4 separate regions of the Homo sapiens genome follow, and all the other regions are linked to region 1. Evidence: promoter capture Hi-C in 16 types of primary human blood cells and fetal thymus (Javierre and others, 2016). All regions are on one chromosome and are shown on one strand. Each heading gives the region's core, a stretch centred on a gene start or on the middle of the fragment in contact. The rest is flanking DNA. Distances are from core to core; before and after follow the strand shown. Region 1 holds the start of NBPF1 (NBPF member 1). Region 2 holds the start of FBXO42 (F-box protein 42). Region 3 holds the start of CPLANE2 (ciliogenesis and planar polarity effector complex subunit 2). Region 4 holds the start of MFAP2 (microfibril associated protein 2).

What was found. Contacts are between HindIII fragments. The CHiCAGO score rates a contact against its expected background, and 5 or more counts as called.
Region 2: a contact is called between the fragment with the promoter of FBXO42 here and a fragment that was not itself captured in region 1, in 3 of 17 cell types (total B cells, erythroblasts and naive B cells). The highest score is 7.4, in total B cells.
Region 3: the fragment with the promoter of CPLANE2 here is called in contact with a fragment that was not itself captured in region 1 in 3 of 17 cell types (total B cells, erythroblasts and naive B cells); the score reaches 9.0 in total B cells.
Region 4: a contact is called between the fragment with the promoter of MFAP2 here and a fragment that was not itself captured in region 1, in 2 of 17 cell types (naive CD8 T cells and activated CD4 T cells). The highest score is 5.4, in naive CD8 T cells.

What each region holds. Positions count from the first base shown.
Region 1 is chr1:16,612,404-16,619,124 of GRCh38, forward strand. NBPF1 (NBPF member 1) reads right to left here and starts at 1,161. Exons shown (of 18, transcript NM_001405701.2): 1 at 935-1,161. It also overlaps the pseudogene CROCCP2. RefSeq lists enhancers at 1,005-1,962, 6,150-6,721. The HindIII fragment of the contact is 158 bases long and covers 4,488-4,645 here.
Region 2 is chr1:16,348,334-16,355,599 of GRCh38, forward strand. FBXO42 (F-box protein 42) reads right to left here and starts at 4,147. Exons shown (of 10, transcript NM_018994.3): 1 at 3,922-4,147. RefSeq lists an enhancer at 3,412-4,186. The HindIII fragment of the contact is 4,914 bases long and covers 2,508-7,266 here.
Region 3 is chr1:16,231,652-16,238,530 of GRCh38, forward strand. It overlaps CPLANE2 (ciliogenesis and planar polarity effector complex subunit 2), which reads right to left and starts at 5,532. Exons shown (of 5, transcript NM_030907.4): 1 at 4,980-5,532; 2 at 1,961-2,113; 3 at 1,242-1,366; 4 at 859-995; 5 at 41-646. The coding sequence starts at 5,091. The coding sequence ends at 397. RefSeq lists enhancers at 1-216, 5,025-5,569 and a silencer at 5,410-5,589. The HindIII fragment of the contact is 3,895 bases long and covers 2,436-6,330 here.
Region 4 is chr1:16,978,563-16,985,763 of GRCh38, forward strand. It overlaps MFAP2 (microfibril associated protein 2), which reads right to left and starts at 2,058. Exons shown (of 9, transcript NM_002403.4): 1 at 2,025-2,058. RefSeq lists enhancers at 1-325, 326-833, 834-1,339. The HindIII fragment of the contact is 10,178 bases long and covers 1-2,264 here.

The sequences.
Region 1 (6,721 bases), core at 3,317-5,816:
CTTCTGGTTCACTAGTGAAATTTTACCAATAGAATTTAAAAACAAAAAGCTACTAACGCATATCAGCTCAGAACACTACCAGCAGATCTTTTCTTTAACTTCCTGAAGCACTGGGATTCATTCTTTTGGCAAAGAAAGGATGAACAACACTGTAACCCAAAGAAAAGATACCACTGCCAGAAAAGACTTCTTTTCGAAAGCAGCTCTAAGCAAAAGATAGGAGGAAAACAAGGAAGCCAGGCCAAACGTCTTGGTTAACTCTCCGCTGAAAGGACGCCACATGAGATGATCTAAGAAGCCAGCCAGCCAGCCAGACGCAGGGAAATCACAGCAACTCTTTGGAGTGCAAACAGCAACCCCACAATCCAATCTACCCGAAATCCTGCGGTTCATTTGAGGCTTGCCCCGCTAGTCAGGAGGTGATTCAGTGATGGCTACAAATGCTGCTCATGTGCATCCTGGAGCTGGCACACCTGGCTTGCCCATCACCAGCCTGGAGACACCGCCAGGAGCAGAAGCCCGGAGGCCAGTAAAGACCCCAACTTTGCAAGTCAGGGGCGCGAGCGCGCTCGCCTCTCAGGTCCGCAGAGGGAACGGATTTCTGGCCTGGAGGGTGGGGTGCGGGGTCAGTGTCCTCTACAGGATATAGGAGGACGTGCCCCCGAAGCTGCTCCGTCCCTCCACCCCCTGGGATGCCACAGAACACCCGCCAGCGAGTTTCTTCCCCAGCGCCCACGAGAGTTGGGCTGCGGGCGGCAGCGGCAGGCGAAGAATCCAGCGCGGGGAACTCAGGCCCCGGCGGTGCACGACCCCCCACAGCCCCCACCCGCCCCCGCGCTCGCGCAACAAAACTTGCCACGGCCGCGCCTCGACCCAGCTGTGCGCCCGCGGGTCCCGGATTCACCGCCCGCCCAGCCTGGCGCGGCGCCCTCACCTCAGAAACGCTGGGTGGACTTCGCGTAACTTCCCATTCACAGGGCAGCCGGCAGCCGCGCCGCCGCGCCTCGGCCCAGCTCCTGGCGCCGCAGATCGCCCGTCCCGCGTTCCCAAAAGCACCGCGCTCGCTCAGAAGCTCGGGCAGCCTCGCGACCCTCACCTACGCCTCCCAGTACCGCCGCTGTCTCAACCGCCACCCAGCCCCTCGCCTGCGCCTGCGCCTGCAGCCCACTGGCTCCTCAGGATCCCGATGGGCGTGTCAGGATAACCCAAGGCGCAGGCGCGGCGGGGCCTTAAAGGGACCCGGCGGCCTCTTCTGCACAACGGGTTCGAGCAGGTTAGGGGCCGCGCAGGCGGAGGAAAGGAGTAACCCAGGGGAAGGACCGAGTGCAGCGGGGACGGGGAAATCCCTCTCTCCCCTCCGCCTGTCTTTCAAAGCACCAGCCCTCGACCCTCCAAATCGCTGGTTTCCCCGGCCACTTGAACAGCCCCTGCCAGGTTGAAGAGGCAGGAGACACACCCCCTCTGGGGCTGGAGCGACCCCGCGCTTAGGACTGCAGGCCTCGCGCTGCCGCACCGCCCCGAATCTGACTTCCAGGCACGGGCACGCGGTGCAGTCGGGCAGGCTTCAGAAGAGCCCCCAGCTCTCCCAGAGGTGGCCTTAGGTCACTCTCAAAAAGAATAACCAATGTGTCAATGGCACTTGTAGTTATTTTCTAATTTAAATTTATTAACAGATTTTGCAGATGGGCTTCCACTGAAATAAGCCTTTGAGAAAAAGAAAAACTTTTTTTTTCAACAGGATTAGAATACCAAGAAATAGGAAGTAAAGCCATGCCGTCCACCCAGCTAAAAACTTTGAAAACTTGATATTTTATCTAAGGCAAATGTTTGCATAACTTTAGGTCATGCCATTATTTAAAGTCAATTTCAGTTAACAATTTCATTGCAACTGAATCTATCTTGTATAAGAAAACTAAGATACATCCCTGATAATCTACCTCTCCCCTCCTATACTCCATCCGTCAGCAAATCCTACTGGTTTTTACCTTCCAAATTTTCCTTGAATCTGTCCTCTTCTATCTCCTCCGTCACCACCCTAGTCTAGGCTGCCTTCACCTGGGGAGTGAGGGTCGAGGGACTACTGACCTAGTCTTCTTGTGGTTTACCCATATCCCCTTTATCGCCTCTCTAATCTCAACACAACAGGCAGAGTGGCTTTTCCAAAATATAATGTGACCGTGTCACTTCCCAGCCTAAAGCACTTAAACACCTTCCCATTCTCTTAGACAAAACCTCCTAACTAACCAAGCCCCGAATGGCCAGGCGCCTTGCCCACTTCTTCATCTCTTCTCACTACTCAGACCAATTCTGTTCTGCTCTCTCTGCTCCAGCCAAACTGGCCTCTTTTATTCCCTATTTACCAGCTTCCTGGCCTCCACAGAGCTTTTGCTCATGCTTTGCTCTGTGCCTGGAAAGTTCTTCTAACCCCTATTCTTCTGAGAACAGCTGTAGTCTCCACCTCTGAAAAGCACCTTCTGACCTCCCTATGGTGGTCCCTTACTCCTATCACATTGCATGAAACTGTAATCGGGTGGTTATTTTGGTGAATTTTTTACTATCGGCTACGTAAGCCCAGGGTTTGGTTTTGTTTGCTTCATGATTTGTATTTCCACATTTGTTAAATACATATTTGTTCATAAATGAGAATGATGGATGCTAGAAGTTGAAGTAAATTTGGCATAAAGTCAGAGAAAGAGAAAATGTCACAATCTGACAGTTGGAGTCAGAATGTAGAAACTTCAGTTATATTAAAACTGATTTTATATCGTTTTAGGCTGAGTTGTCTTAGGATGCTTTGGGTAACCTTTAAAACTGAGTTCTCAAAGAGCCTTGTATAAACACCTGAATTAATAATGATAAGCCATGGGGTGGCCCACATAAAACTAATAACATTGGTTGCTTTAAGAGAGGAAGACTGAGCCAGGCACAGTGGCTCATACCTGTAATCCAAGCACTTTGGGAGGCCAAGGCCCGCAGATCATTTGAGCTCAGGAGTTTGAGACTAACCTGGGCAACTTGGTGAGACCCTGTCTCTACATAAAATACAAGCAAAATTAGCCAGGCGTGGTGGCGGGCACCTGTACTCCCAGCTATTTGGGAGGCTGAGGTGGGAGGATTGCTTGAGCTCAGGAGGTTGAGGCTGCAGTGAGCCATGATCATGCCACTGCATTCCAGCCTGGATGACAGAGCAAGATCTTGTCTCAAAGAGAGAGAGAGAGAGAGAGAGAAATGAAGACTGGTGACTGGTGGCTACTGGTGGGAAGGAGATTTTTACTAAATGCCCAAAAGGTTTAAAATTGTAACTTTTTTATTTCAAAGTCTGTGAAGATAAATGACACAAAAGAGCACATACCTTCCCATTTATTTGAAATTCTAGAAAGGGGAAAATTAATCTGTGGTGAAAAAATCATAGCAGTGGTTCCCTCTGGCAGGGGATTGACTGGGAAGTTACATGAGAGAAATTTCTGGGTGGTAAAAATGGTCTCTGTCTTGATAGGGATATGAGTTATATAAGTGTATTCATTTGTCAAAAAACATACAGTTAACATTTCAATGAATGTAAATTTTACCTTAAAAACTATACGAATAAATGCAAATTTAAAATCTGCTAGCTAACACCTAGTTGAGTACTCAGTGTCTATGGGCATTGGCCGAGGCTATACATACACGATTTTCTTTAGTCCTCATACCGTCCTCATGGGGTAGGTATTATTATCATAACCCCCTTGCATATGAAGAAGCCAAAATGCAGTAAATACCAAATAACTTGCCTCGATTTATACCCCTGGAAAATGCGGGAAGAGCTTTAAACACCATCAGTCAAATGCCAGAAGTTGTTAAACATTAGACTCTATAGCACTTCTCTGAAATTATAGTATTTTTGGTATATGTATATATATATATATATATATCATCTACTAGATCAAGAGCTTCACAATGATTGAAATCATAGTTTGTCTTTTTGTTTGAGGTTTATGTTTTTATTTTACTTCATTATTTTAAAGACTGAGTCTCGGCCGGGCACGGTGGCTCATGCCTGTAATCCCAACACTTTGGGAGGCCAAGGTGGGTGGATCACTTGAGGTCAGGAGTTCGAGACCAGCCTGGCCAACATGGTGAAACCCCATCTCTACTAAAAATACAAAATTAGCCAGGTGTGGTGGCACGTGCCTGTAATCCCAGTTACTCAGGAGGCTAAGGCAGGAGAATCGCTTGAACCTGGGAGGTGGAGGTTGCAGTGAGCCAAAATTGTGCCACTGCACTCCAGCCTGGCCGACAGAGTGAGACTCCATCTCAGAGAAAAAAAAAAAAAAGACTGAGTCTCACTATGCTGCCCAGGCTGGACTTGGACTCCTTCATTCAAGCCATCCTCCTGCCTAGGCTTCACCTGGGACTACAGGCCCAATATTTTTGTCTTAAGTTTCTAAGCAGTCCCAAGACTTTGCACAGTAGCTGTTCAATGTATTTTGAGTGAATGATTAAAAACAAGCTTGATGTCGATTTTATTGGTACAATTTATATTTACATATGTAATATTTATATGCTTTTATATATTTATGTGTGCATGTATATAATTGGTACTAACTTAGCACTGCTGTGCCTAAGTGCCTGAGATGCATCTCAAATGAATAGGCCTGAGGAGAGAAGCTTGTGTCATTAGCTCTGACCCTGCAGCACTAATCCTGGTTTACCCCTTTCTTTCAGTCTCCCTGAGCACAATTTATTTGCTGAAAGGCCACATCTCACTATGGAGTGAGGATCAAGAAGTAAAGGTCTGAAAGAGAGAAGCTGCGGGGCTGGGGAGACTGTTGGTCGGAGAGGCGTCGGGGGCCCAAGGAAAAGGGAGGATTGTGGGGAGGAATCGGCGTAGAGATGAGAGGAGCAGCAGAGACAGAGTCTCACGCAGAGGTGTGCCCAGACACCCTGAACCAAGTTACTTAACCTCGTCCACCACCGTGGCACCCGTGGGGTCCGTGGGCCCGTCGGTCTTCCAGGAGGGATTCTGTGTCCCTGTTATTGTGTGTCAACATGTGTTAGCCTGATATTTATATTTTTAATGAGAGAAAACGAACTCTGGAATTTGCGAACTGTTTTTTCGTTTTGCTTTATACCTCTTGGACACTCCTTCCGAAGGATTGGGTCTCAAGGGCAGTGGGGTGTGACTACGGTAGACAGGGCTGATTAATTTTCATCCAAAACTCTTTGGCGGATTCCCCTGCTCTCCGCTTCTCCGGTCTAACAGTAGTTTAAAATAGAAGATCAGCAACATTTGGAGAGTTTTTTTCTTTGCATTTTAATGATAAACTTGATTTATTCCATTCCAAAAGTTTTCTTATTCTGAGGTTGTCTTTCTATATTTTGAGTATAAAACAATGGCCATACTATGTTGGAACCACCAAGGTTCTTCTCTTCACTTGTTCATTTGTAATGTCTCTTTATAATCTGAGAATTTCCTGAGCAAACTGGGAACTGTTATACATAATTCCTTGTTTTTCAACATTCTTTGTAAACAGGAATCAGGATTGGGGATGGGGAGGGAGGGAGGAGTAGGAGTCCTGATTTGTGGAACAGAAAATCATGGATTACTTATGTGATGGAGCAAAGGGTTTAAAAACTCTTAGCATCCCCAGATTTCCCCTTTTACTGTTTGCTGAAGAAAATTCTGTCTTTGACTCCCTTCCTTACCCTCTCCGGGCCTGTGAGAAGCTTCCTCCCTATCCAGTTTATTTCCTCCTCTGCTCCCCGACCCACCCCCCACAGCCCCCTCCTCTTTTTCAGTGAAGCCGCTGGAGGAAAGTCGGGTTTGGGAGAAGACCCACACAGGCAAGGACAGCAGGAGAACACTGACATAGTTACACTCTTGTCACCAGCACTTTTATTAAGACGTGAAAAGACAAAGACAACAGAGGAGAGCAGAGAATAATATCTCTGTTTCAGCTATTCCAGGATGTTATGCCAATTATCCAGAGTCCTTGATCTGATGTAGTAAAGAGCTAGGGACATTTTCCCTGAAGGCTTTGATTGCTGGCAAAATCTCATTAAACGTGTATACATTCATAGGTTGGCCATAGGATGGATAAAAGAAGAGCCTCTGGCCTACATCTGCCACGATACATGTGCAAAAATGCTCTCTGCAGCATTATTTTTCATTGTAAAATAGCAGAACAAATTTATTATTCAATAATTATAAAATGGTCAAATGTATGTGACTATATTTGGACAATGAAAAATGCAGCTGTTAAAAGCAGACAATACTGATGATTCAGATGATGTTACTGATGAAAATAATAACAGATGACAATTATTGAGCATTTATGGCATTCTTACAGGCATTACCTTATTTAAAGTTCAGAACTACCAAGGAAAAGAGTAACTTGTGGCAGGCGTGAGAGGTTCCGAGGCACAAAAGGAAGATAGGCATTCAAGGAACACCAGGATAGAAGACCCAGAGTAGGAGAAGAGAGAGGAAGAGGAGTCCGCCAGATGGGATGCTGGAAACCGCGGGATAGCTCGGTGGAGAGAGGGCGCTCCTGCTCCGCAAGCCTCCCTACGACGGCAGGCCTACCCGGTCCTGCTCCTGCCGGCTCTGGGCATCTGGTTTCTGCCGCTCCATCTCCAGGGAGATGGTGGCCAGGCTGTGCCGTGTACCCATCAACTTCTCTGACAGCGCCATCTTCTCAGACTCCTTCAGAGACAAGGCCTGGGCAGAGGCAGGGGACAA
Region 2 (7,266 bases), core at 2,897-5,396, 260 kb before region 1:
ACTTGTACTGGGATACAGAAGTTCAATATCAAAGCTACTAGCAACACCAATCCACATAGATTCTATAAAAGTTTAGTGTAATTCGTCGGGAGCGGTGGCTGAAGCCTGTAATCCCAGCACTTTGGGAGGCAAAGGTGGGCGGATCACATGGTCAGGAGTTCGAGACCAGCCTGGCCAATATGGTGAAATCCCACCTCTACTAAAAAAAAACTACAAAAATTAGCCGGGCGTGGGGCGGGTGCCTGTACTCCCAGCTACTCGGGAGGCTGAGGCAGGAGAATCGCTGGAACCCGGGAGGTAGAGGTTACAGTGAGCAGAGATTGCGCCACTGCACTCCAGCCTAGGCGATAGAGCAAGACTTGGTCTCAAAAAAATAAAAAAGAAAAAGAAAGTTTAGTGTAATTCTCACTTAAGCGGTCAGCTTCAATCAAAAAGGAATTAAGATCTTCTCATTTTATTTATTGTTGGGAAAAAGGAGACAGTACTAATAACCACCTATAATCAACATTGTAAGGAATAACAATTAAATATTTACTGTATTAATTGTCATCAAATTAAAAACACAGTGCCTCTTGTACTAGTTTACAAAACAAAAACAAAAAAGCATCATCACTCTAAAGTTGTCACCACTTAGTAATCTGAGATATTTTAATTGCAGCTGCAATGTTTGTGTTTGTTGCCTGTGTATATGACTCATATAGAAAGGTTTTCCCAAGACTGCTGGATTTTTGAGAATGCAGAAGCCATAACTGGGGCATACTGTGTGGGAACTGTCATGACAGTGAATGAATAAAAGGGGAAAAGAACCCATGACAGAATTTTTTTTCAAGTTTTTATAAAAAGCAAGTCACTCACTAAAGGCAGACTCTGCAGAATAATAGGAAAGGTTGGGGAAAAGCCATCCCTGCTCCAAGAAGCCTTCCTTGACTCTCTTGGTTGGATTCAGTGCACTTCTTAACACTACATAGCACTTAACGGGTTTCCTTGTCTGGCTCCCCAGCCATACTATATGCAACTTCAGACCAAAAGCTGTCTTAAATTAGTACCTACTTCCCAAAACACCCGCCATATGGAGGGCCCTCAGTAGGTGGTTCATAAATAGGAATAATCAATTTTACATTTACCTTTTATTTTACATTTTACAAAGCACTTTCACGAACACTATCTTTTCTGATCCACATTAACAATCGTGGGAAGGGCTTTATTTAATCAAATGGCTTCTGGTTTTATAAAGAGTTAATTCAGGGCCGGGCGCAGTGGCTCAAGCCTGTAATCCCAGCACTTTGGGAGGCCAAGGCAGGTGGATCGCCTGCGGTCAGGAGTTCAAGACCAGCCTGGCCAACATAGTGAAACCTTGTCTCTACTAAAAATACAAAAAATTAGCTGGGCATGATGGCAGGCACCTGCAATCCCAGTTACTCAGGAAGCTGAGGCAGGAGAATCGCCTGAACCGGAGAGGTGGAGGTTGCAGTGAGCCGAGATCATTGCACTCCAGCCTGGGAAACAAGAGCAAAACTATGTCTCAAAAAACAAACAAAAAGAGTTAATTCATTGACTAAAACAATTCTGAAATCACAAAGATAATTACGTATTTGTTCATCTTTGAGATAGCTTCTCCCTGGGACCTCAGTGTTCTCATAAAACTCAGACGTTTTGTTAGCATTTTCTTTGCTTGCTCTCCATAATAGGTAGGACTCACCCTGCTCTGAATCTTACTCAGGGTTTAAACCACATAAAGCTGTTATTAAAGACCCCTCTAGAAATCAGACAAGAAGAAGCATCCTAAGCTATTTTTTTTCTGATCCTGTTCTTTTTGTAACTAAGGTAAGGAATTGCAAAGGTCAAAATCTGGAGAGCAAATGATGTCATGGATGTCATGAAGTTGCATCAATACCTGATGATGATTTAGCATAACAGTGCAACATATTATGCCAAGAAGCATAATGATGAGCCACCAGGATGTTTTACTGCATTAATTTCATGACTCTTTATTAGCAAATTGATATGCAAAGTAGCTCTCCAATTTTCTACCACAGAGAAGCTGCTGGTTCAGATTTACATCTTTAGCAAAGACACTAAGAAAATCGACAAATTTCTATGGAAAAGTCTTTGATTTAAAAATAGAAAAGGAGGCTGGGCACGGTGGCTCAAGCCTGGGGTGGGGCAGGGTATCGCTTGAGACCAGGAGTTTGAGATCAGCCTGGGCAACATCGGTGAAACCCCGTCTCTACTAAAATTACAAAAAAAAAAAAAAAAAAAAAAAAATTAGCGGGCGTGGTGGCGCACACCTGTAATCCCAGCTACTCAGGAAGCTGAGGCAGGAGAATCGCTTAAACCCAGGGGATGGAGATTGCAGAGAGCCGAGACTGTGCTACTGCACTCCAGCCTGGATGACAGAGTGAGAAACTGCAAAAAAAAAAAAAAAAAGAAAGAAAGAAAGAAAGAAAGAAAGAAAGAAAGAAAATGGTCAAATAATAACCTAAACAGTTGTCATTTTAACAATGAAAAGCTTTTTAAGATACGCAACATGCCTATGGATCAATGTAGATTGAATCATCTATTTATACTGGCTTGTCAAAAGCAAACAGTTACTGGGTATAAAATGACAACATACAATAGAAAAGACACCCAATCAGATTACACACGTGAATACACTCAAAGTTAGCAATTTAACACAGCATCACTAATGGCCATAAGATATACAGACTTAATTCTAAATATTCAATTCTAAATGATGGTACTTCCCCCAAATTTTCCTTGCCTCTTTAAATCCATGATGTCATCATTCTTAAGCAGAAGTAAAGCCAATTTGTTACAAAAGATATTTTGGTGTGTCCAAGCAAAAGCAATCGCCTCAACAATTCTGCATAGCACAAGTTCAGTGAAGCCATCATTCCTCAAGAAAGAGACCACAAGGCTTCAAACCGACTTCCCTACATGACAGAAACACAATCGAAGTCTCCCAATTAGCATTTAAACAGCAATAAAAGTTGTTCTCAAAAAGGAACAACATAGTTTCAACGTCGGGGCCAGCAACTGCCAGCAAGTAAAACTGGTAATGTGTCAGAATCTTCATCTAGATCGATCAGAATCCCACCACAGAAAAATCCAGACTCTGGCAATTAAGAAATGAGGCTTTTATTTTCCTAACAGAAATCGGGAGATTTAACAGACAAAGCAATTGGTTATTCTGAATCTTAACAAACCGAAGGTTTCAAACGAACTCAGCGCTGAAGTTACTCTGCAGCGACCATCAAGATCTCACAATCGTTTTCTCTTCGCTTACAAATTCGTTCCCACCCTCCACCGTTCCCTTTGCACACACAATTCTCGCCAAGAGAAGCCTTCCACAGTCACAGCATGGATTGCTGTCTCAAGCAAGGAGATCCGCAGTTCCCATTTCTCTAAGGGAACACTCAACAAGCTAGGGGATAGGAAAGGCCTTTTGTGTTTTATTTAACGTAAACCAATTCCAAAATTATCCCTTTGCAGCTGCAGGTTCAGAGATGCTAGCCCCCAGCCGCAGCCCCAATTTTGATGGGCACCCGACCCCCGACTCCTCTCTCGCAAAGGAGTGAAATGTTCGGAGGAGCGATGAAAGATTACCTGACACCCTAAAGCCATCCTTGCCCGGGCCACACACCCCTTCACTGCCCGGGTGAGGGGACGAGAACCACCCTGCTGAGGAGAGGGGGTGGGTTCGCTCCCAACCCAAGGGCTGGCTGGAAAGGAGCTGTCCTCCTCCTCGCCTCACTCGAGGACGGCGATAGCAAGTCACCCTGCCCAACCAGGACCGACCCCCGCGTGGGATACGGGGCCTGCGTCAGACCCCGGGCGCCCGCTGCCCCTTGCCAGTCCCGGGCATAAAGGGCAGAAGGCGCCGGCTCCCCTCTGCGGCCCGGGGAGGAGGAGAGGCCTCACCTGGCCCAGCCCGCTCCACGCTCTCGGGTTCGCTCCGCTGGCGACGGTAATGAGGGAGCCAGGGACAGGGCCAGAGCAGAGGCGCTCTGCCTCAGGCCGCGACAGCCGTGCTCGGGGCTCCTCACAGCTGGCGGGACCCCGAGCCGCCCGGAGCCGCCATCTTCCTCCACTCAAACGCCGCCGCCGCCGCAGCTGCTGCTGCTCAGGCCGGGAGAAGACAGCGCAGAGCGCGCATGCGCCGGGGCGGGCGCGGCGGACGCGCGCGCACTCACGTCAGCGCGGCGGGATGGCGAGGGGCGGCCAGGGGGCGGCGCAGTGTTGAGAAAGGCCGTGGTCACAGGCCGAGGTTCTGTGGAGGGTGGAATGCGCTCGGGGGAGCTAGGCCTCCGCACCCGCCTTCGCCGCGTCTCTAGCGTCGACCTGATAGCCGCACCCACCCTCCGCTGCACTGTCTGGGGCAACTGGGTGGTTTTCCCGGTGGTTTGAGACTAACATTTAGCCAGGAATTAACTCACTTCTACCCCGAGGGCCCGATGAGCAGAGAGGGCTGTGGCGGATGTGAGTGCTCTTGGATATCGCCAAGGGGAGGGAAACTGTGCTTGAGGTGTGCAGGAGAAGTCTTCCCTTAACCGTAGCCTCGTAGCAACCACTGTGAGTTCTTACTAGCTCCACTTTTCAGATGAGGAAACTGAGGCACAGAAAACGATCACTTATTTGCCCGGAGTCACACACCTATCAGTGGAGGTGGGGCGGCGCGGGAAAGAGGATTTAAACTCAGGCTTGTCTGGTTCCCAAGCTCCTTTACTTCCTACTAGCTAGGTTATAGGATCCAGCAAAGTCCCCCTTCTCAAGGGAGCAACCTGGTGTGTAGGTGAGAACCTTCATGAGCCCAGCCCTACAGCATGTGGTCTAAGGAAATGCCAGATACAGAGTCAAAGGCTTCAGTCTAAACTCTGTAAGCCAAAAAAACAAAACAAAACAAAACAAAAAACTAAGCCCCCACCCCCCCCCCAACACCAAACCATCTGAACGGACTTCCTCCTAGGCCAGGGCAGTCTAAAATGTAACCAACCTGAGAGACTGGTTCAGGCCATGACGGGAAGCAGGACATGAGACATGCCTCATTACATCCTTCAGCATTGACATCAACACAACAGACCTTAAGACTGGTAAGAAACATTTACAATCTGTTCTCTCTGGAGCCCACCTGCCACTTGGAGGCTTCACGTGCGTGATAAAACTTTGGTGTCCACAATCCCTTATCATAACCCAGACATTCATTTCTATTGATAATAACTTTTTTTTTTTTGAGACAGGGTCTAACTCTGTTGCCCAGGCTGGAGTCCAGTGATGAGTTCTTGGTTCGCTGCAACCTCTGTCTTTCAGGCTCAAGCTATCCTCCTACCTTAGCCTCCTGAGTAACTGGGACTACAGGCGGGCACCACCATGCCTGGCTAATTTTTCCATTTTTTTTGTAGACACAGGGTTTCGCCATGTTGTCCACTCTCATCTCAAACTCCTGAGCTCAAGTAATCCACTTGCCTCGGCCTCCCAAAATGCTTGGATTACAGGCGTGTGCCACCGCACCAGGCCTATTGATAATAACTATTTCAACTCATTGCCAATCAGAAAATGTTTAAATCTGCCTATAATGTGGAAGCCCCCACTTCAAGTTTCCGGTCTTTCTGCACCGAACCAATGTAGTTTTTATTTATTTATTTACTTATTTTTATTTATTTGTTTATTTTTTTGAGACTGAGTCTTGCTCTGTCGCCCAGACTAGAGTGCAGTGGCACCATCTCCGCTCACTGCAACTTCCGCCTCCTGGGTTCAACCGATTCTCCTGCCTCAGCCTCCCGAGTAGCTGGGATTACAGGCGCCCGCCACCGTGCCCAGCTAATTTTTGTATTTTCAGTAGAAAATACAAAATTCAGTAGAAAATACGGGGTTTCACCATCTTGGACAGGCTGGTCTCAAACTCCTGAACTCGTGATCCACTCACCTCGGCCTTCCAAAGTTCTGGGATTACAGGTGTGAGCCACGGCGCCTGGCCTTTTTATGTATTTATTGAGACAGGGTCTCACTCTTCGCCCAGGCTGGAGTGCAGTGGTGTGATCTCCACTCACTGCAACCTCTGCCTCCCAGGTCCAAACGATTCTCGTGCCTCAACCTCCTGAGTAGCTGGGATTACAGACATGTGCCACCACACCCAGCTAATTTTTGTATTTTTAGTAAAGACGGGGTTTCACCATGTTGGCCAGGCTGGTCTCGAACTCTTGCCTCAGTTGATCCACCCGCCTCGGCCTCCCAAAGTGCTGGGATTACAGGCATACGCCCCTGCACCTGGCCCTGTATTAATATATCTTAAATGTATTTGATTGATGTCTCATGTCTCTCTAAAATGTATAAAACCAAGCTGCTTCCCAACCACCTTGGGCACATGTTCTCAGGATCTCCCAAGGGCTGTGTCATGGGCCATGGTCACTCATATTTGGCTTAGAATAAATCTCTTCAAATATTTTACAAAGTTTCCTCCTAGGAAATCTCATGGGGCATAGGGCTGGGCCAGAAGCCAAGTTCCCCTCAAGTTGGAGGGCAAGGCCTCTTTGAGCAGACTTGGGTCACCCTTACCCATAGAGAGCTGTATGAGCCAGAGGCGGTGGTGCATACTTGTCAGCCCAGCACTTTGGGAAGCCAAGAGGGGAGGATCGCTTGAGCTCAGGAATGCAAAACCATCCTGGGCACCATAGCAAGACCCCATCCCTACAAAAAGTTGAAAAATTAGCTGGACATGGTGGCATGTGTACCTGTAGTTCTAGCTACTTGGGAGACAGAGGCAGAGGGTTGCTTGAGCTCAGGAGTTGGAGGTTGCAGTGAGCTATCATCACCTCACTGCACGCCAGCCTGGGTGATAGAGGGAACCCATCTCAAATAAATAAATAGAAAGCAGTATATTCTTACGTTCTTCAAACCTGAATAATGCAAAGTCCCCTAGGGATACACTCAGGGAATCCCAGTGGGAGAAACATTGATTTAAGAAAATCATGTTTTGGCCAGGCGCGGCGGCTCACGCCTATAATCCCAGCACTTTGGGAGGACGAGGCAGGCGGATCACCTGAGGTCGGGAGTTCGAGACCAGCCTGACCAACATTGAGAAACCCTATCACTACTAAAAAAAAAAATACAAAATTAACCAGGCGTGGTGGCACATGCCTGTAATCCCAGCTACTCGGGAGGCTAAGGCAGGAGAATTGCTTGAACCCGGGAGGTGGAGGTTGTGGTGAGCCGAGATCGCATCATTGCACTCCAGCCTGGGCAACAAGAGCGATACTCCCTCTCAAAAAA
Region 3 (6,879 bases), core at 4,282-6,781, 380 kb before region 1:
CCGAGCTGAGGCCTACGTGAGAACGAACACGTCTCTGGAGTTCAGCACTGGGATTTCGGGGTTTATCTGTTACAACAGATGGTGTCACCTCAACCAATACAGGTTCTTGATTGAAGTAACTTGAGAGGCACCCCCTCTCCCAGTCATCCTCCATCGGTGCTGCCAAAGGGGGAAAGGCCACGGGAGATGTTCGAGCTCAGGGCCTTGGTCCCCACCTCCCTGCCATGAATTCTGCAAGGAAAGCGCTGCTCGCGGGTGGGCCTTCTCTGGCCACATCCTCCCTGATCAGGCCATGCTGGCCAGTCCTCCAGATAGGATCCATGTTCCTGCCCCAGCCTCCAGCCCTATGTCGAGACCTGAGGGTTGGGGGTGGGATCACAGGCAACCACTCGTGACTCATTCAGGAGCACTCTCTGGGGGGTTGGGAAGCAGGCCAGCCGCCACCTGGTCCTGGTGCCACAGCTGCTCAGCAAGGCCATTGAGTATGTGGGCAACGTCGGCCAGCCCAGCCCGCCCGTCCAGTGTGCGCCCATCAGCCAGCCGCCGCCCCGGCACACTCTTCACCCGTAGCAGGGGCAGCTCCCAGGCCTGCCGGAAGGCTGTGAGGTCCCGCTCGGGCACGTCCGTGTGCATGTACTGGTCAAATCTGGAGGAGGGTCAAGGAGCCTAACTGGGTGCCTCTGCACAGCCCCCCATCAGACCCTGCCTCTCCCTCCTCCCTGGAGCCCACACCCAGGAGCTGGGGTAGCCATGCTGTACCCTTTAAGTAAAAGCCCAGGTGCTGAATTCCATGCCTGGGCAGAGGCTGGGCCCCTGACCCCCTGGCTCCGTGACTTGCCAAGGATATCCAAAGGATACTTGGAGCCGATGACCATCCTGACGACACCAGGGGCCTCACCTGCTATGCGGGCCAGCTGTCCAGGGAGGTCTTCAAAGGAGGCACGGTCAGTGAAGGAGAAGAGGAAGAGGAAGGCATCTGTGTTCTCCATGCAAGCCTGGTGATGGAGAGGCATATAACCATGTCACCCCCCATCAGCTGCAGGGCCCTCAGAAGAATCAGGAATAATCCCTCCTTTCACAGATTGGGAAACTGAGGCCCAGAGCAAGGAGCGGCTGGTCCTAGGACAAGCATGGGCTGGGACTGTCTCCAGTGCCAGCTCAGGTCTCTGAGCAGTGCCTTGAGCTCATTAATACCCAATCGGCCCCTGGCAGAACCCACCCAGGCCCACATGCCTGCTCACCAGCAGCATATGATCGAACTTTTTGAGTGCAGACTCTCCACAGTCCCAGAACTCAAAACGAAACATGACGACACGGCTGCTGGCCTGCAGCTTGGCTGGCCAAAATACCACGGTGGTCTGGATGCCTGAGGGGGAGCCAGGGTCAGCCACTCACCATGGGAGAGGTGGAGATGGGAGGAATAGGGGACCAGGAAGGAATAGGAAGAAGAGATACATCCCTGCCCTGATGGGTCCCTAGTTTGATGAGGGAGGCACAGTCCTTGACCCGGGATAATTCTCAGTCTGATGGGAGAAACAGAAACTGGCCCTGGAGGAGACTCTGGTACACCAGGAAGATGCAGCCCTAGCTATGGCAAAGCAAGTTTCGTTTGTATGTCCAGGGAGACCCAAAGGGCCCAGGACGCTGGGAGATGTTTCAACATGGTGGAACAATCAGCATCCAGTGGTGAGAAACAACAAAGCAAGATTAGCATTTCCTGAGCATTTACCTTGAGCGTAGCTTGATGCTAGGCATGTTACCACCACCACCACCTCTAGTGGCAACCACACAACAACCCTGTGGTACTATTATCCCCTTGGGACCAAGGAGCCCATGTAGGCTCAGAGACGTGAAGTGACTTTCCAAGGCTACAGAGTAAGAGGTGGTCCAGGGCCAGGTTCTTGCCTCCACCCCCAAGGAGGGCCTCCCAGGATGGGCAAAGGATAGAGGTCCCACTCACCGGTGGTCTCGTGGTGCACCACAGGCACCTCCAGGCCAGCCAGCTTGGCCACCAGCGCCGTCTTGCCCACACCACTCTTCCCGGACACAAAGATCTTGTAGCTGGCAGTGTCAATGGACACAGGCGGCAGCAGCACTGGCCGCTCAAGCAGCCCTAGGGCAAAGAGAGAGCCAGGCAGGGTCAAGGGGTGCTGTGGTTTGAAGGTGTCCCCCAGAGTTCATGTGTTGGAAACTTAATCGCCAATGCACCAGTGTTAGGAAGTGGGGCCTAACACAAGGTGATCAGCTGCCCTCATAAATGGATTAATGTTGTTATTGAGGGAGTGGGTTTGTTATAAAAGCCAGTTTGGGCGCCTCTTGCTGTCTTGCTGTTGCCCTTCTGCCTTCTGCCACGGGATGACACAGCATGAAGGCCCTTTCCAGATGCTGCTGCCATGTTCTTAGACTTCCCAGCCTCCAGAACCATGAGCCAAATAAGCTTCTGTTCATTATAAATTACACAGAGGAGGCCTGGTGCGGTGGCTTACACCTGTAATCCCAGCACTTTGGGAGGCCAAGGCGGGCAGATCACCTGAGGTCAGGAGTTCGAGACCAGCCTGGCCAACATGGTGAAACTCCATCTCTACAAAAAAAAATACCAAAAATCAGCTGGGTGTGGTGGTGGGTGCCTATAATCCCAGCTTCTTGGGAGGCTGAGGCAGGAGAACTGCTTGAACCTGGGAGGTGGAAGTTGCTAAGCCGAGATCACACCACTGCACTCCAGCCTGGGCGACAGAGCGAGACTTTGTCTCAAAAAATAAATAAATAAATAACTTAGAGTGTGGTATTCTGTTGTAGCAGCATAAAATGGACTAAGACGCGGGTAAATCCTGCACTTGCCCCATCAGATCCTGGGCTGGACAGTCTCACTTATTTATTTTTACTTTTTTTCTTTACCTTCTATTTTTAATACGGATGGGGTCTCACTATGTTGCTCAGGCTGGTCTTGAGCTCCTGGGCTCAAGCAATCCTCCCACCTTGGCCTCCGAAAGTGCTGGGACTACAAGGCATGAGCCACCACATACAGCCAAGGACAACCTCATTTCTAATGGCTTCTTCAGGGCTAACCAACCATCTGTGGTTCTTTTTTGTTTTTTTTTGAGACGGAGTTTCGCTTTTGTTGCCCAGGCTGGAGTGCAATGGTGTGATCTCACTGCAACTTCCGCCTCCCGGGTTCAAGTGATTCTCCTGCCTCAGCCTCCCGAGTAGCTGGGATTATAGGCATGCGCCACCATGCCTGGCTAATTTTGTATTTTTAGAGATGGGGTTTCTCCATGTTGGTCAGGCTGGTCTCGAACTCCCAACCTCAGGTGATCTGCCTGCCTCAGCCTCCCAAAGTGCTGGGATTACAGGCGTGAGCCACCGTGCCCGGCCTCATCTGTGGCTCTTAATACTCAACCTAATTTTACAGAAGTCTGGGATACAAAGAGACTAGCCTAAGCATTATAGTCAGTCTGTTGATATTTATTTACTAGCTGCTCTCAGCGTTTGTTGTGGGGCCTGCATGACAACCACTGAATGATACATTCAGGTGCATAAACCCAGCTGTTAAAAAAAAACCCAAATGTCTGCAGTTAAAGTAAAAACACAAAAATTAAAAGCCATCACTGCCATTCCTCTAAGTTATGGCTGCTTAATCCTATCTGTGGCATAGATAATATGGTCAGTGGATTCTATGATGTTCCCAGAAAATCAGCTCAACCTTCACTCAATTCTCTTCCACTCAACACAACTAAATGCAAAATAAATACAATAACAGCCAACCTTCAGTGAACACCCACTGCATGCCAGAACCTGCTTGGTATGTTACAAACACCCTCCTTATTAATTTCCCCAGTAACTCTATGGGGTAAATACTGTGATTATCCCCATTTTACAGAGGTGGGACTTGAGGCTAGAGTTCACTTATTCCCAGCCATACAGCTAGCAGTGGTGGAGCCTGGGTCACTTGCCTGGGTATGTGTGACCCCAAATACAGTGTTGCCAGCCATCATGGGATTAGAGGGACAGTGGCCATATTAGAGGGTCTTTTTTTTTTTTTTTTTTTTGAGACGGAGTTTCACTCTTGTCACCCAGGATGGAATGCAATGGCTCGATCTAGGGTTGCTGCAACCTCTGCCTTCTGTGTTCAAGCGATTCTCCTGCCTCAGCCTCCCAAGTAGCTGGGATTACAGGTGCCCGCCACCACGTCCGGCTAATTTTTGTATTTTTAGTAAAGATGGGGTTTCGCCATGTTGGCCAGGCTGGTCTTGAACTCCTGACCTCAGGTGATTTGCCCACCTCGGCCTCCCAAAGTGCTGGGATTACAGGCCACTGCGCCCAGCCTTCTAGAGGGTCATTTTTTGAATTTAATATAATTTCTTTTAAAAAAACAAACAAACAGTTGACTTATTCACAAATTTTGGTTCTAGCTATCTCACTCTCTGGTCTTAAGTCTTCTGGCACCTTGCTTCTCCTGGCCAGAGCTGGGCTCCACAGCTGATTCCAGGCACCTCTGCCGGCCTGACAGCTGGGCCCTGCCTGGGTGAGTCAGTTTCACCATGGGGAACACCAGCGTCTCATCCCAGAGACAGCAGGACATGGAAGAGGCTCACCTCTATTTATTGGGGTGTGATCTTAGCCAAGTCTGTACCATGTGCTGTTGAGAGGTTAAATGGGCGTGCACTGTGTAACGTGCCCAACAGAGGGCCTGGCACCAGGGGAGTGCTCAATCAACTGCATCTCTGGTGACAGTGGTTGCTGGCAAGGTTTCTGCTGTTTCCATGTTCCTGGCTCTGACGATGGAATTAGCTCTAAGGAGATTTAGGTGTGGGGGTCCCAGAGCTAGGGCTTTCAGTCCCCCAGGCTGAAGACTGCTGAAGACTGCAGTGGAGCAGGCCCTCACTGCCCTGCCTCTCTGCTCTCCTCAGGGAGCAACAGGTGACACTCTTCTCCCCAGGGAAAGACAAGTGGCGGGCTAGAGGAAAGGGGGAGGCACTTACCAAACACCCGCCGGCGGTTCTTGCGCAGAATGCAAGCCAGGTACTCCTTGCCCTCGGCACTCTCGTGCCAGTTTGGGACAACCACCGAACCGGGCACGGGAGGTCTGGCCATGGCTGGGCACCGCGACGGGGTAGGGAGGTGACAGAATGCTGAGAGCAGGGAGTGGGAAGGGGAGTGACAGTACCAAGCCGGGCCTGTGATCCCTCTTAACTGCCCTCTGACTCTCCCGGGGGGCCCCAGAAAGTGCAGTCCCTCAGCCGCCTCTCTCCTTCGCAATGCTCCCTGGGGATAGTCATCCCATTACTGCCCATGGAGGGTATTCACACAGCCCCTCTCCCCTTGTCACCTCCGGGGGTCAGACAGCCCCGCTTCTCCTCTACCTTCTAGATCCCGACTCCCAGGGCTACCTAGCCCTCCCCGTCAGCAGTCCCGGCGGCGAACCGACCTGGGTGCCGAAGGCCCCTTTAAACGCCCACCCGCACTCCCGCCGCCCCAGCCCGCCGGGCCCACTTCCGCCCCGCCTGCGTCCGCCTTCTGCGCGTGCTGGCAGCTCCGGCGCAGGTGCGCGCGGCGCATGTGCGGAGGTTGTTGCCATGGAGACGCCGGAGGTTGGGTTGGGCGGGTTCCGGGAGGCGTTCGTCCCTCCTACAACGTCCGCAGCCTGCGCCGCGCGGTGGCTCTGGACTAGGCCTTTTCCTCTGGGTTGTGGATCCTCTTCTCTATGACTCCGTCCGATCCCTAGTCTTTCTTCCAAAACATCATGAAACCCCCCCTCCAGGAGCCTTTCATGCTTCTCTGTGTCTCAGTTTCCTCTTCTATAACGTGGACGTAACATGTTATTCCCTCCATAGCAGTGCTCCATATGTTTAGTTATGATTGTTGCTATTATTAATATTATTGCTCTATTAATCCTGCTTGGCAGGACCTCTAGATGACTTAAACATCTCTGGCTTCACTGATGGGGACACACACCAGCTCAGAGAGGTCAAGGGACTTGGCTCAAGTTTTAAAAAATGAGTCAGAGGCCCGCTGGATTGTATTTTTCATTCATTCATTCATTCAACAAATACTGAGCACCTAGCTGGGAATACAGTGGCCAACAAGAAGTCCCTGCTCTCCTGGAGCTGACTTTTCAGCTCTGAAACTCTGAGCTCCTCTCCACCGTTCCAGCACTGGACACCAGGCCTGTTACCCAGAAGGTGGGTGCTCAGTAAATGCCCACTGGTTGGAAAGAGTGCAGGTGGGTCATTACTGAGAGTTTGTCTATTACATTTAATTTTTACCATTATCTTTCCGCAATGCCTTCAAGTAGGGCAAATCACTGTTTTGAAAGGAATAATTTAGGAGTTAAGCTTTACCTAAGGCCACCCAAGTGCCAGACAGTGGGGACTTTACAGGGGTCACCTGATTTAATTCTATAAACAAACCTGTGTAAATAGTATTACCCTCTTGTACTGACGAAGACTCTCAGAAACATAACGTGACTTGTCTGAGGTCACACCGCACAGCTAGTCAGTGTGAAACCGACTCAGAACCCACAGCTGGCTGGGTGTGGTGGCTCACGCCTGTAATCCCAGCACTTTGGGAAGCTGAGGCGGGCAGATTGCTTAAGCTCAGGAGTTTGAGACCAACCTGGGCAACATAGTAAGACCCTGCCTCTACAAAAAAAAAAATACAAAAATTAGCCGGGCACAGTAGTGCACGCCTGTAGTCCCAGCTACTTGGAGGCTGAGATGAGAGGATTGCTTGAGCCCGGGAAATGGAGGTTGCAGTGAGCCGAGATCATGCCACTGCACTTCAGCCTGAGTGACAGAGCTAGGCCCTGTCAAAAAAAAAAAAAAAAAAAAAAAAAGAACCCACACTTACCTGACTCTAAAGTACTTATCTGTTCTGCCAGTT
Region 4 (7,201 bases), core at 808-3,307, 360 kb after region 1:
GATGTGGTCAGGGAAGGGCGGACCCTGCCCTGCTCACTAAGGGGACATTCCTAATGTGCTCCCAGCCCAGGCCATTCTGTCCTCACCCACACCCGTGCTCAGCCCTCTGGCCCAGTGGCTCCCTGGGTGTCCAAGGCACTGACTGCGTGAATCACTGAACCCAGGCCCATCCTTGGGACCCCAGCCCTGGCCAGCCGGCATCACCGCCTGGACTCAGCAGCTTCTGCCAAGCCACCACCTGCTCCCAATTAGCCCCTGGGCCCTAAGCATCCTGCTCAGCAGGAAACCACATACACATGGGCCTGCCCGGCCCCCAGAGCGGCCAGGCCGGGCAGGGCTCCCAGCTCCCAGAAGACTCCTCTCCTGCCAGGCCTCCAGGCCTCGCAAGACCTGGCTGTGTGCATCACAGGCTCACGAGACCCGGGCTATTTGCAGCAGCAGGAAGCACGAGAGTGAAGCCTGAGGGGGCTCCTCTGGATCCCAGAAAGGCAGCACTGAAGGGGCCGTGACATCACCCAGGCTGGGGGTTCTGCACCCCCTGACACTGTAGGCAAGTGTGTGTGTCATTTGGAGGGAGAGGGCATGGGGTCCGTGGCTTTCATCAGGCTCCTGACATTCAAGAGCCCAGCCTCCAGTCCTGGCTACACGGTGGGACTTGGGGGAGCCTCCGGTTCCCCACATCCAGCCCCAGCTCAGTGGAGGGCCACCTCAGGTCCGTCAGCCTTCTGTAGGGAGGGCTGCGAGGGCGGGGTCCATCCAGGAGGGCCCCTCCCGGCTGCAACCCAGGAAGTCCTTTCAGAGAGCTAGCTGGAAACCCCAACTTTGGTCTATTTTCCCCACTGGGAGTCCAGGGAGAGGGGAGGGAAAGGGGAGAAAGCAGGAGGTCTTTCCCTCCTTCCTCTCAATCCTGAGGCCTCCTGACCCCCTGGCTCCTCTCATGCATTAGGCACCTCACTAAGGTGGAGTGGGAGCCGGGAGACGAAGCTCAGGACCAAGCTGCCCCAGAGGCGAGGGATAGCTGGCTCCCCACACCCCATTCTGAAAACCCTTGACCTCCTCATGGGAGGGGGATGAAAAGACCCAGAGAGCCTTCCTTGCCCTTCTCCCCATCCGTCAGGTCGGTCGGAGCCCCCGCTGCTCAGCAGAAGGCGCTGAATTGGGGCAAGAGGGGTTGCAAGGTGTTGGGGGATGCCTGTCGGTACCCTGCGGGGAGTCTTCCTCCCCTAGGACTGGCCCCCGAACCCAGGCTTATTGGGGGAAGGAGGCCCACGGGCTAGCGGGGAGGCAGGAAAGAGAGAAGTCAGTGTGGAGTTCATGAACTCCTCCCACGGGACCACATCTCCGAGCTCTTCTAGACGAAGGGGTTTTGGGGCGTGCGGGAGGCCAGGACCTGCCTGGGAGGCTGCCCCACCCCCACCTCTGGCCTCTTCCACAGCTGCGGCCTCCCCCACCCCCGACTCCCCTGCGTCCTGGGAGGTGGGGGACAGGGGGCCCCGACGCTCGCTCAGACATCAGACGGAGGGAGGGCTCTGCCGGCTCCAGAGCCGGGCTCAGGGGGAGGGGTCCCGGCGGGAGAAACCCAGATGTTGCAGCGCCGCACAGCTGGGAACAATCAGCCGCGGAAACTTGCTCCGCGCGCCCTCGCGCTCCCGTCTCTGATCTCTCTTTGTCTCTCTGCGTCTCTGTCTCGGCCATTCCCACCGGACCCCCCCCCCCCACCCCACCCGCCACATTCCAACCTCCCCGGGAGAACAAAAGATGTCCCATCCCCCGACGACCTCACCTCTGGCTCCCCCCAAACTCGGGCTCCCCGCCCTTCCCAATTCGCGTTCTCTCTGCAGAGCAACCCCAAACTTTCCAGGTGCCCCCTTGGCCTCCGCTCTGAAGGCGCGGGGTTCAGGAACCTCCGCGGCTGCCCCAGGATCGAGGACCCAGAGAGCCTGGCACCCTCGCCCCCGCGCCGGGGGACCCGCCGACGCCCCTGACCGCCCCCCGGGGCCCCCAAGCGCCAGGCCCGCGCCTACCTGTCCGGGTCACTCCGCCGCCCGCTCCGAGTCCGCCCGCCGGAGCCGCCCCTTGGCCCGCTCCGAGTCCCCCTCCGGGCCCCCGACGGGGCTGGCGCCCGCCCTCCAGCCCCGGAGCCGCTGGGTCCTAACGCGAGCTGCCCGCATGGGCCGCCACGCCGTGCCCTCGGGGTTCCATCTCCTGGGGGGGGGGGTGTCCCCGGGGTAGAGGCGCCCGGGGCCGTCCTCACGTCTGTGCAAAGCTTCCTCCTCCTCACAGCTGCTCCTCACTCGACGTCGACGGGGTGAGGGGGGTGAGGTGGGCAAGGGTAGGTGTGTTGCCCATTTCACAGAGGAGGAAATCAAGCCTCCCAAAGTGACTCACCCTAGGCCCCTCAGCCAGAAAGTAAGCCTCGATCTCCCTCTGCCTTCTCCCAGCTTCCAGGACACTCTCCTGCCTTGGTTTTCCTTCTGCCTCTCCAGCCAAGCCTGCTGCCTCTCTCAGGCCCGCACCCTCCTCTCCTACACTGCTGAGCTCTGGGCCATGGCTGGCTTCCACAACCAGCGGTTCTTTCTTTCCTTTTCTAGAGACAGGGTCTTGCTGTGTTGCCCAGGCTCGTCTGGAACTTCCGGCCTCGAAATTTTGGCCTCAAGCATTCCTCCTGTCTCATCCTCCTGGGCTGTTGGGATTACAGGCATGAGTCCCTGCCCCCGGCCATAACCAGCACCTCTTTCAGCCCTGACCCAGCCTATGTGTCCCACAAATGTCCTCAAGATGCATCAGCTTCAACAAGCATCCAAGTCCAAATTCACGACCTCCTAACTCTCCCCCAGACCTGGCCCTCCAGGATTCCCAGTCCCCCCTTGGCCCCGCAGCCTTCCATTACCCAGGCTTCCTCCCCTGCCCTTAGCCCTGCATCTAATCCAGCACCCACCCGTGAATGCTACCTGAAAAATTTCTTTTGTGACTCCGTTCACTGCTCCCACCCTGGCCTAAGCCACTGTGAGACCAAGTTGCAATCCCAAGAAACCGCATTTGCTCTTTCTGCTTGTCAGAAGCTGACAAAGCCCTGACTCAGTGACTGGGGGCAGCCCAACGGAAGGATGCCTTGAAGATGGCAGGCAGGGCAGAACACAGGCTCCCACGCCTCTTGCCTGAATCACTGCATTGTTAGAAAATATAAGTTAAATGATCCTGGCTGTGCCTTTTCCTGTACATAAGATAGCACCTGACAGGATTGACGATTATGCCTCTATAATCTATATAACTAGGTGCATCCTCGAACCCAAACCTTGGCGAGATTTGCACTAGTGTAGCTTCTGAAGACATTTGATGTAAATTTTTCTTCTTCTTTTTTTAATGAGACCGGGTCTCGCTCTGTCATCCAGGCTGGAGTGCAGTGGCACCATCACAGCTCACCTCTTGGGCTCAAGTGATCCTTCCACCTCAGCCTCCCAAGTAGCTGGGACTACAGGCAAGAGCCGCCATGCCTGGCTAATTTTTTTTTTTTTTTTTTTTTTTTGTATTTTTTGTAGAGAAGGGGTTTTGCCGTGTTTGCCCAGTCTGGTCTCAAACTCCTGAGCTCAAGCAATCCACCCGCCTCAGCCTCCAAAAGTGCTGGGATTACGGACGTGAGCCACCGTGCCTGACCATAGCTTCTGAGCACACACAGAACCGCCTGCCTCTGTATCTAAACTGTGGGCTGAAATGCTGCTTTGGCGCAGTCTAACAGAAACTCTCTGAAACCCTCTCCCAGGGTGCAGTCCTCAGTAAGACTCAATAAAACTAACTTTAATTTTTTCAATGGCTGATTTTTTTTTTTTTTTTGAAATGGAGTTTAACTCTGTTGCCCAGGCTGGAGTGCAGTGGTGTGACCTCGGCTCCCTGTAACCTCCACCTCCCGGGTTCAAGAGGTTCTCCCAACCCAGCCTCTCGGGTAGCTGGGATTACAGGCACATGCCAGCATGCCAGGCTAATTTTTGCTTTTTTTTTTTGAGTAGAGACAGGGTTTCACCATGTTGGCCAGGCTCCTGACCTTAGCTGATCCGCCTGCCTTGGGTTCCCAAAGTGCTGGGATTATAGGCATGAGCCACTGTGCCTGGCCAAAAGGTGGATTTTTTCTTTTTCTTTTTTTTTGAGACAGGGTCTTGCTATCTCCCAGGCTGGAGTGCAGTGGTGCATCCTCAACTCACTGCAACCTCTGCCTCCTGGGTTCAAGCGATTCTCATGCCTCAGCCTCCAGAGTAGTGGGGACTACAGGCACCCACCACCATGCCTGGCTATTTTTTTTTTTTTTTTTATTTCTCGTAGAGACGAGGCTTCTCCATGTTGTCCAGGCTCGTCTCGTACTCCTGACCTCAGCTGATCCACCCACCTTGGCCTCCCAAAGTGCTGGAATTACAGGCGTGAGCCACTGCACCTGGTCAAAAGGCTGATTTCTTATTTAGTTGACACCACCATCATTTGCCTGGGCTCTGCGATAGCCTCCACTCTGGGCTCTCCCACGTGGGTCCTGCCTCCCTCACCCCCGCAGATCGTGCCCCTTCTACTGATCGCCTTTCACTCAGGTTAGAGGCTCAACTTCCCTGTGGCTTCCAGGGCCCCGGCCCTTTATGGCAGCCTGGCTCTGCCTCCTCTTCCTCCTCCAGCCACTGGCCTTTGGGGGTTTTCTCCCAAACCCCTCTCCCTCCCACACTGAGGCGTTTCTTCCTCCCGAGCACTGGCTGAGGTCTCCTCCATGGGGTCACAGATCAAACCCTCCCTTCCTCAGAGGGGCCTTCCCTTTTTCCTTTTTTTGTGCTTTCTAGCTTTACTGCTTGCAGTTGTCTTGTTGGCCTATGTCTGTGACCATCTGAGCCCTGTCCCTCTTCCCGATGAGACTGTCATCTTGCCCCGTGAAGGCCAGGACCAAGGCTGTTTTTGCTCATCTTCAGTTTTGCTCATTAAGTTCAGAGCCCGGCTCAGAGCAGCAGTTCAGCAAACATTGGTGGAATGAATGAGTGAACTGTACACTAAACTCTTCCCGGAGAAGCTGGCTGGGGGTGCAGATCCTCTGCGTGAGGGGCAGCCTTCAGCCCTGCCCAGGAGCCTAGGCCTGAGGCGGGAGTGAGAGTTGTAGGGGCTGCGGGCTGGGAGGAGATGAGGATGGCCCCTGATTTAGACCCTTGCCATCTGATCTCTTCATCGCCAGTCATTCCCCCACCTCCCTTAGACTCTGAGTCTTAGGGAGGGAGTAAATATGCCCTGTGCCTCCTTCATTCCCATGCCCCGCCCCCCAGTGTCTATTGCAGGGCAGCAGAGACTTTTGTCACCTGGAGAGAGGTGGGCCCTCAGGCCAGGCCAGCCCAGCCCTCTCTGCCTGCCCTTAGACCCCACTGCTGCCAGGAGCAATCCCACTGGCAAAAGAGAGGAACTCACCCAGCAGAAATGCTGTCCCCTACCCTTGAAAAAAGGAGGGAGGTTGGGTGCAGTGGCTCACACCTGTAATCTCAGCAGTTTAGGAGACCAAGGCGGGTGGACCGCTTGAGCCCAGGGGTTTGAGACCAGCCTGGACAGCATGGCAAAACCCCATCTCTACAAAAAATACAAAAATTAGCTGGGTGTGGTGGTGCTGGCCTATAGTCCCAGCTACTCAGGAGGTTGAGGTAGGAGGATCACCTGAGCCTGGGGAGGTAGAGGCTGCAGTGAGCCACGATTGCACCACTGCACTCCAGCCTGGGCAACAGAGCAAGACCCTGTCTGAAAAAAAAAAAAGAAAAGAAAAGAAAAACTGGGAAACTGAGGGGCTAAAGCTGACAATTCGTGTCCTGGCTCCCATGTCCTCTCTGCTGCTTCTACCCATTCCCCTGGCTGTTTCTTTGGGCAGGGGAGGGGATGGGGCTGTGGTTGCTGTGCTCCCACTACGTCTTTGGAGATGTGCTCCTTCCCTGCCAGGCTTTCACGCTGGATGGTGAACTGCTCGCAGGGTTAGACCATGTTTTTGTCCCGTTTTATTCAGTTTGTTGAGTTAGTCCTGGTGCCTGGCACACACCTGTCCAACAGATTCATGAATAATCAGCTAAGGGTAGAGGAGGGATTTGAACCCAGGCCTCTCTGTGGCTTCCTCTTAAACAGCATCTACCACCCTGAACCGTCGCTGGCTGGCAACACAGTGCCAGGAGCAGAGGTCCACTGTGATGTGCCTCCTGGCAGGACTTTCATCTTCACACCCACATCCCTTCTCCCCAGCATGATTCAACGTTTTCTCAGCCCCTACTCTGGCAGGCCTGGGGATAGCACCAGGGGTTCCAGGAATGAGGTTGGCCAGGGCTTTTGGAAGGCAGGAAACAGCCGGTCTTTCCTGTTCTCCCCTGCCCAGATGAGCCAGACGGCCAAGCTGCCTCTCTAGAGCAGAGGGGCTTGGCCAGGGGCCCGCTGGTGAGATGAGCTCAGAGGCACCCACCCTTCCCTGAGGGATGATGCGCGTGGTTCTGGCTGGGAGATGTGGGCTCCGAGCCTGGATTTCATCTGAGGAAGGAACTGCCCACAAACATGTCCCAGGATGCTGGGGTGGGACGGGGAGGGGGTAAGGTGGGAGAGAGGGAGCTGCCCCCTAGCAAATGCCTCCCAGGCAAGCCTACATCTCCTTGTCCTCCAAAGGAGGGTAGGAGGGTTAGGAACATCGAAGCTGGAGTCAAAGCTATCCGGCCCCACTCTGACTACTTGTGTAACCTCTAAGCCTTGGTTTCTTCATCTGTAAAATGGGAATAGTACCACAGTTGTTGGAAGGATGACATGACAATGTGTGTAAAATGCTAAATGGGGCCAAGCGCAGTGGCTCACGCCTGTAATCCCAGCACTTTGGGAGGCCAAGGTGGGCGGATCACCTGAGGTCAGGAGTTCGAGACCAGCCTGGCCAACATGACGAAACCCTGTCTCTACTAAAAATACAAAATTTAGCTGGGCGTGGTGGCACATGCCTGTAATCCCAGCTACTCGGGAGGCTGAGGCAGGAGAATCGCTTGAACCTGGGAAGCGGAGGTTGCAGTGAGCAGAGATCACCCCACTGTACTCCAGCCTGGGTGACAGAGCAAGACTCCATCTCAAGAAAAAAAAAAAAAAAAAAAAAAGCTAAACGGAATATCCAGGCACATGCTGGACACAGAGGAAACATTATTACTGTGAGATGAGGGAACACAGGCCCAGAGAGGGGAGTTGG